Linked DNA regions of Homo sapiens: region 2 is linked to region 1. Evidence: promoter capture Hi-C in 16 types of primary human blood cells and fetal thymus (Javierre and others, 2016). All regions are on one chromosome and are shown on one strand. The core of a region is centred on a gene start or on the middle of the fragment in contact, and the rest is flanking DNA. Distances in the headings are between cores, read along the strand shown. Region 1 holds the start of STX17 (syntaxin 17). Region 2 overlaps LOC101928438 (a long non-coding RNA gene).

Region 1 (3,457 bases), core at 278-2,777:
CAAGATTAACCTCACGAGCAATAAGTCATATATATCAGCTATGCTCATATGATGAACTGAGAAGGGCACACACACTTTTGTGTTCTTAACAAAAATGTATAACCTTAATCTAATCATGAGAGAACACTGGACAAACCCCATTTGAGGGGCACTCTACAAAATAACTGACCAGCATTCTTCAAAAGTGTAAAGATCAGAAAGAGTATAAAGACAGAAAAAGACTATCAGTGTAAAGACAGGAAAAGACAGAGGAACTGTCACAGACTGGAGGAGACCAAGGACCCAAGACAACTAACTGCAATGTCGGGTCTTAGAGTGGATCCTAGAATAGAAAAAGGACATTAATACAGGAAAAAAAATCACAAGTTAGTAATTCAGTTAATAGTATTATACTAATATTAACTTCTTGCTTTTGATAATTGCGCTATGGTATGTAAAAAATTATTAATGGAGGCAATAGGGAACTCTGTATTACTTTTGAAACTTTTCTGTAATTTTAAAATTATTTCAAAATAAAAAAGTTTTTTAGTATAAGAGGATGTTTCACGTAAGACAGGTAAAAACATTTAGAAGTCAAAGAACTGCCATCGTATTCACTGCATTAATACTTGGAGAGAGGGGTGCCAGGACTGTGCCAGGTGCTTTACAAACTTTATCATGTAGTGCTTACAACTAATATGAGATGGGTACCATAATACTCATGTTTCCCAGTAAGTTACTTAGGAGGTTATTAATAAGTGAAAGACCCCATTTCTCAGGAAACCCAGCCCCCAAAAGTGACGAACACCTTCCATCGGCCCAGAGCTCCCACTTTTCAGGATACTAGTGGCGCCCGATTTCTTCCGGCCCGCCGCTTAATGTTTCTGACTTATGGAAGAGATACCGAATTTGGAGAGAAAAGTCAAAGTAAAGTCTCCTCTCTGAACCTCGGTTAGCTAAAAGGAGGGAGCCAAGGTGTGGGACCTTCTGCCAACCACCTCTGGGTTTGGCGAGCAGGGGCTTCCGGCCTCTCGCTCCCAGTCCTCCGAGCCTCACTACCATCGAGCGTCGCGTCATTCCTCGCAGTGTCACCCACAGCACACCTGGGCCACACACACCAAACGCCCCCACCAGCGAACGGATGCGCGGGTCTGTCCCGGGACCCAGACGCCAGCGACCCTGGCGACCCGGGGCCTACAGCGCGCCAGAGACAGGACGCGCGCCGGAAACTTTTCCACCCCGCGACCCCGGGAGGCCGTCCTGCTCGCATCGTCTGCGGCCTCCCTATACCAGCTTCCAATAAAGCTTCCAAAAACGAAACCAAGCGAGGCTCCGCCACTTCTGAAAAACAGGAGGAGCCACCATGGCGCTCGCACTTCGGATCCAATGCCCTACTTGCCGCCCAGCGCCTCTTGCGCGCGCCACACGGGCGCCAGGCCCACCAAGCCTGTGAGGGCCCGACGCCCCCAAAGGCGGCCTCCAGAGAGCCCCTTACCTCCCGCCGGGGCGCTCGAGGCCGGTCGGTGGGCACGGCGCAGGCGCAGGAGCGACGGGGCGGGGCATCACGAGGGGTGGGCAGGGTTGGGCCCCGCCCCCGCCCCCGCCCCCGCCCCGCAGGGCCCCCAGGCCGGGCGCTGGGGGCGCACAGGTGAGTACAAATGCGGACGCTGCTGAGAACAGCGAAAGCCTTTTTCAAAAGTGATATTGATTTACGTTATGGGGTTGTGACTCGAGCCAAGAGGAGAGAGACGCACAAACGCTCTTTAGGTCTGCTTGTTGTGTTTAAGACAATTCATGCTTGTATGGCCGACTGCATTTCGCAGTTTTCCTGTCCGTTTTCCTCTGTTCTTCCTAGAATTTTATTTGCGGGTTGGGCATGTATTCTTAGCTCTGTTTTGAAACTGAAGCTCAGAAAGGTGGTGCCTCCCCATCCCGTCCCCAAAAGCCCTGTGAAGTGGACAGGGCAGGAGTGCCATCTTAATTGCAACAGGTGTAAAAATTAAAGCTCAGCAAATTGTGGTTTCCTCCAAAAACTGGTGGAGGGCTTAAGGCAAACGTCTTTATCCCGATTTTATAGATTATGACTCTGGGGTTTAACAAAGAGTTTTAAGTGACTCACTCCAGTTCAGCCAGCTTATGGCAGAGCTGGAACTCCAACTGGGTGTCCTAATTTCCTTCCCAAGTTATTCCAGTTAGACCAGCTGCAACCACATGAACAAGCAGGTGGCCGGCTTTGAAGCCTTGTCCAAGTCACAGGTCCTCCTCTCTTCATGGCCTAACTTCCAGATCCAGCCCTTTTAAAAAGATGTCTGTGAATATTCAGATGACGTGCTTAGAATGTATTCACTAATGGCATTGTCTCAGAAGTGATCAGGATGTTCAAACCACAGTTAAGGAAACTGAGTTCTTAGGGTCTTCCAGTAGAGTAGGAGGTAAACAGGGAAGATTAGGGGCCTGTAGATCCTTTAAAAAGCCTTGAAAGACAATTTCTAAAACAAAGCACCAAATCTACCAAGCAATTTGGATTTTCTTTGGGGACATAATGTATACTGATATTTGTTTTACAATGAGCTCCAGAATGTATTTATCAAATTTTGATTCTAAGGAGAAAAATTAAAGTATTAGGCAATACTGTGAGAAAATGTTTTTTATGCAAGGATCAGTGAAATAAGATCTTTTGAAATAAAAGATCATTTGTGTTAAGTTCTGAAAAAGCTTCCTCAGGTACAAAATCAGGAGGTGTGGTACTCAAAGATTCTAAATTTGGACCTGGACTTCTAAGTTGTTATATGTATGTTTGCTGTAAGTTAGGTGTGTCAAAGTAGTAGGATAAACATTTTTTTTTTTTTTTTTTTTTTAGACAGAGTCTTGCTCTTTCGCCCAGGCTGGAGTGCAGTGGCATGATCTCAGCTCACTGCAACCTCCACCTCCCAGATTCAAGCGATTATCCTGTGTCAGCCTCCTGAGTAGCTGGGACTACAGGCGTGTGCCAACATGCCCGGCTAATTTTTTGTATTTTTAATAGAGACAGAGTTTCACCATGTTAGCCAGGATGGTCTTGATCTCCTGACCTCGTGATCCGCCCGCCTCGGCCTCCCAAAGTACTGGGATTACAGGTGTGAGCCACCATGCCCGACCAAAACCTTTTAATCTAACTGTTGGTTAGCTTGATTTATAATCTTTAAATATTCAAACATATGGTGTGTGGACCTCTTTTGTGTACTCTAGGTCATCAAGTTGTTAGGGGCAGGCCTGCTACTACTGGCCGACATTTTCCTGAAGTCCTAACTGAACCCAGCAAGTCCAAACAAAACATTAAGTGTATATGTTGGAAAGAAAATTAAAAAAAATTCTTAGGGTGTTATGATTGATTGCTTTCTTGGAAAATCCATGGAATAAACTGAAACTAATTCAATAAGATGGCTATAAAATACCTCTCCTAAACAACAATCATCAATTTTAAAATGTAATGAGAAGA
Region 2 (3,566 bases), core at 519-3,018, 100 kb after region 1:
GGTGATCTATGTATGTAAACTCTTTGAGGGAGGGACTTGGCATGCCTTGTATACAGCTAGATCCCCAGTGTAGTTCCGGACACGTGGTAGATGTGCTCAGACAACATTAGCTGTATGAATGAAAGAACTTCTTATGATACCCAAATCTGGCAGCCACAAGTCTCATTACAATTTACTTTATGGAGGGTCCCCATTGGTAATAAGGTCTATTAATTGTAGAATTGTCCCTGCTGACTTTAAGAGACTTCACTCTGTGTCCTTTTATGCTGACAGAGCCTACAACTTTTTTCATCTCCAATAATCTTCAGCTCCAGGCCAAAAAAAAGTTGTTCTTGCCCTGCTCACATTAATTGAAATAAGTCAGTGAGATTCCTTCTGCCCACCACCTCACTTCTCACTAGCATGGGGCTCAGCTACCATTAGAGATGTTAGAGTGGGGCTGTTGTGCAGTTCTTCAGACTATTAGTGCTGTATGCTATGTTCTGAGGAGGGTTCGGGCTTTTATCTTCTCAAAAATGTGTAAAATTTTGACTCACTCATACAGCTTTAGATGTTAACAGATAGAAGTATACTGACTGTGTGTGCTAGGCTCTTCCATGTATTATATCAGATGTTGCTTCCAGCCAACCTGAGAAGCTAAGTACTAACATTGTCCCTATTTTACAGAAGCATAAAGAAGTTAAGCAACCCAACCTAAGTTCACACCAAAATTTGAACCCAGGTAGCCTTACTTCATTCAGTGCCCGTGTTCTTAACCATGTCCAATGACAGCCTCAAGCTCATTTGTTTATAAGTAACTCGTTCTTACTTTCTAAAAGCTTTTCTGTTTTCTTTATTTTGAAGCTCAGAAATTAGAAATCTGACTAGGATATATATATAGGTATATGCCCTTTTTCATTTATCCTGTCTGGTACTCAATGAGCCCTTTTGATTTCATAATTCTAGTCTCCTCCTGAGGGAAGTTTTCTTGTATTATGTTTTGATTATTACTTTTTCCATTATGGTCCTTGTTCTCTCTCTGAATGCCTTTTATTTCCAATTAGACCTCCTGGACCTGCTGGTTAGTTCTCTCATCTTTTTATTCAAGAATTCCATTTCTTTTTTTTTTGCTCCAGATAATGTGATACACATTCACCTGCTTTTCCAGATAACAGATTTGTTCTTTGGAGGGTCTCCTGTACTTTTTACTTCCTCAATTGAAATTTAAAATTTATAAATCATGTTTAAAGAATTACCCAATCTATTATTTTGTTTCAGTTATTCCCTTGCATTCAACAGCATATACAAAATAAAATATACAAGTAAACATGGTTTATTTTAGAAATGTGAGACTATTTCAACATTAGGAAATACTAATGTAAGATATCACTCTAATAGATCAAAGGAAAAAAACTTAGAATCATTTTCACAAATACTGCAAAGGTATTTGATAAATCACTACTCATTCTTGATAAAAACCAAAGAAACAAAAAACAGCTCTTGTTAATCCAGGAAATGAAGGCTATTTTCTTAACAGTACAGCCAATATCATAGTTAACTTTGAAAGTTAATTTTGAAATACTTGAGCAACATTCCCTAAGAGTATCTTCAGAACTGTAGATCTGATGTTTATATAAAAAAGGGTATCTTGGTGTATTAGTTAGGGTAAAGCGAGATGTTACAACAAATACCAACTTTTCAGTGGCTTAATAAAATATAAATTTATTTTTCCCTCATGTAATAGTCCACTGCGGATGTTTCTGGTTGGCAGACAGTTGTTTTTTTCTGTATGGTAACTCAGGGACATAGGCTCCTTCCATTATAGGGATCCACCATTCCCTAGGGCCTTGAATTCTTCTGTTTCCAGTGGACAGAATTGCAGAGATAGGGTGGAGAATGCATACTTTCTTCTCAGTTACCTTGGCCTGGATACGACACACATCAGTTCTGTTCACATTCCCACATTCCATTGGCCGGAACTAGATGCGTTACCTCACCTGTCTGCAAGATGTGTGTTCCAGGGGAGGGAAATGGAAAACATTATCTGGCTGGGGAACCACAGGTGTGGTAACAGTCTCATTTGTAGTTGGAAGGAGTAGAAATTAGGAATGCCTTAGTGGAGGACACTGTGTGATATCTGTCAAATTTTAAAACATACATGTTCTTTGACCTCAAAATTCCACTTCCAGCAATTTTTCCTACAGATATACCCACAAATATATACATGTTTACACTTGGAGGATATACCTAGTAATATTGTAATAGTAAAAGATTGGAAGCATTCTGAATGTCCATCAAAGGGGACTGAGTTGGAAACATTCTGAATGTCCATCAAAGGGGACTGAGTAAATTATTGTTTATCCATACATTGAAACACTGCAGCCACTGAGAGGCAGTGATATATGTACTGACTGGGGAGAGAAATGCAAGGTACAGAACCGTGTGTTCACAGCTACCATTTACTTAAAAAGAGAAATATATACATGTATGCTCATATATTCATAGAATATTTATGGAGGGATCACAAGAAACTGGAAGGATCACAAAAAATGTAACAGTGGCTGCTTCTGGTTAAAATTATAAGGTCATGGGTCATGGGATGAGAGAGTCAGGCTTTTACTGTGTCCTCTTTTATACCTTTTGATGTGCACCTATTTAAATATAAAAGTCAGTTGTAGAAGTATAATAAATAACATGGAAAGATGGCTGTAATATATTATTGCCTAAAAACAAGCTTACTGAAAATTATGTACAATATGTTCTCACTTTTATAAATAAATAAAGAAATGGGATATACAGAAATGCAGTGGTTTGTGTTCTTTTTTTTTGCTTATTTGTATTTTTGGATTTTCTATAGTAAACACGTATTACCTTTATAGTTAAAACAATTATAAAATGAAGAAACACAATGAAAACTTTTCTTAGGAGTCCTTTCTGGCTTTGCCATGAAACTTCCTCCATTTCTCTTATTAAGATTAATGGATGACTTATTTTTCCTTCCATGCTGCGTTTTAAACATACTCACAACACTCTAAATTGCATTATCGTGTACACATTTGGCTCATCTACTTTGTGCATTCTTAGTGGACCTGGATCATACCAAATTTCTCCAGGTATCCCTCTCTGTGCCGAAAATAGTGTCTTTCCTATAACAGGTGTGCAGTAAATACTGAATTGGCACTTTAACCAGGGAGCACAATGAGTTCCAACTTACTATTTTTTTAATCTTTTTTTTTTCCCCCCTTTTTCTGGAGAACAGGGCCTCACTATGTTGCTCAGGCAGGTCTTGAACTCCTGGACTCAAGCTATCCTCGTGCCTCTGCCTCCGTAAGTGCTGGGATTACAGGTGTGAGCTACCGTGCCTGGCACAAGGACTGAAGTAGTTGTGTACTTTTCGCCCTTGTGTTATGTAGCCTCTATTCAGTACTATACCCCAAATATCACTGACTTGTTAGCAATGCCATTGGCTTATTAGGTGCAGTTCGAAGTCCCATTGGGCCAAAGGTTTCCTTTCTAAAATGATACTGGTTGCCTCCAGGGATCTGTCTCTGCATCCTTAGTTAGCATGGGTCTGTTATATATGTAGT

What was found. Contacts are between HindIII fragments. The CHiCAGO score rates a contact against its expected background, and 5 or more counts as called.
Region 2: a fragment that was not itself captured here is called in contact with the fragment with the promoter of STX17 in region 1 in 2 of 17 cell types (naive CD4 T cells and total CD8 T cells); the score reaches 6.0 in naive CD4 T cells.

The regions. Positions count from the first base shown.
Region 1 is chr9:99,904,724-99,908,180 of GRCh38, reverse strand. STX17 (syntaxin 17) reads right to left here and starts at 1,527. Exons shown (of 8, transcript NM_017919.3): 1 at 1,475-1,527. It overlaps STX17-DT (STX17 divergent transcript), which reads left to right and starts at 1,580. Exons shown (of 3, transcript NR_038853.1): 1 at 1,580-1,627. RefSeq lists an enhancer at 989-1,228 and a silencer at 1,389-1,788. The HindIII fragment of the contact is 1,410 bases long and covers 1,287-2,696 here.
Region 2 is chr9:99,800,357-99,803,922 of GRCh38, reverse strand. All of the region lies in intron 2 of LOC101928438 (a long non-coding RNA gene), which reads left to right. Among named protein-coding and RNA genes, the nearest start is that of NR4A3, 20 kb to the left of the region's middle. The HindIII fragment of the contact is 1,895 bases long and covers 821-2,715 here.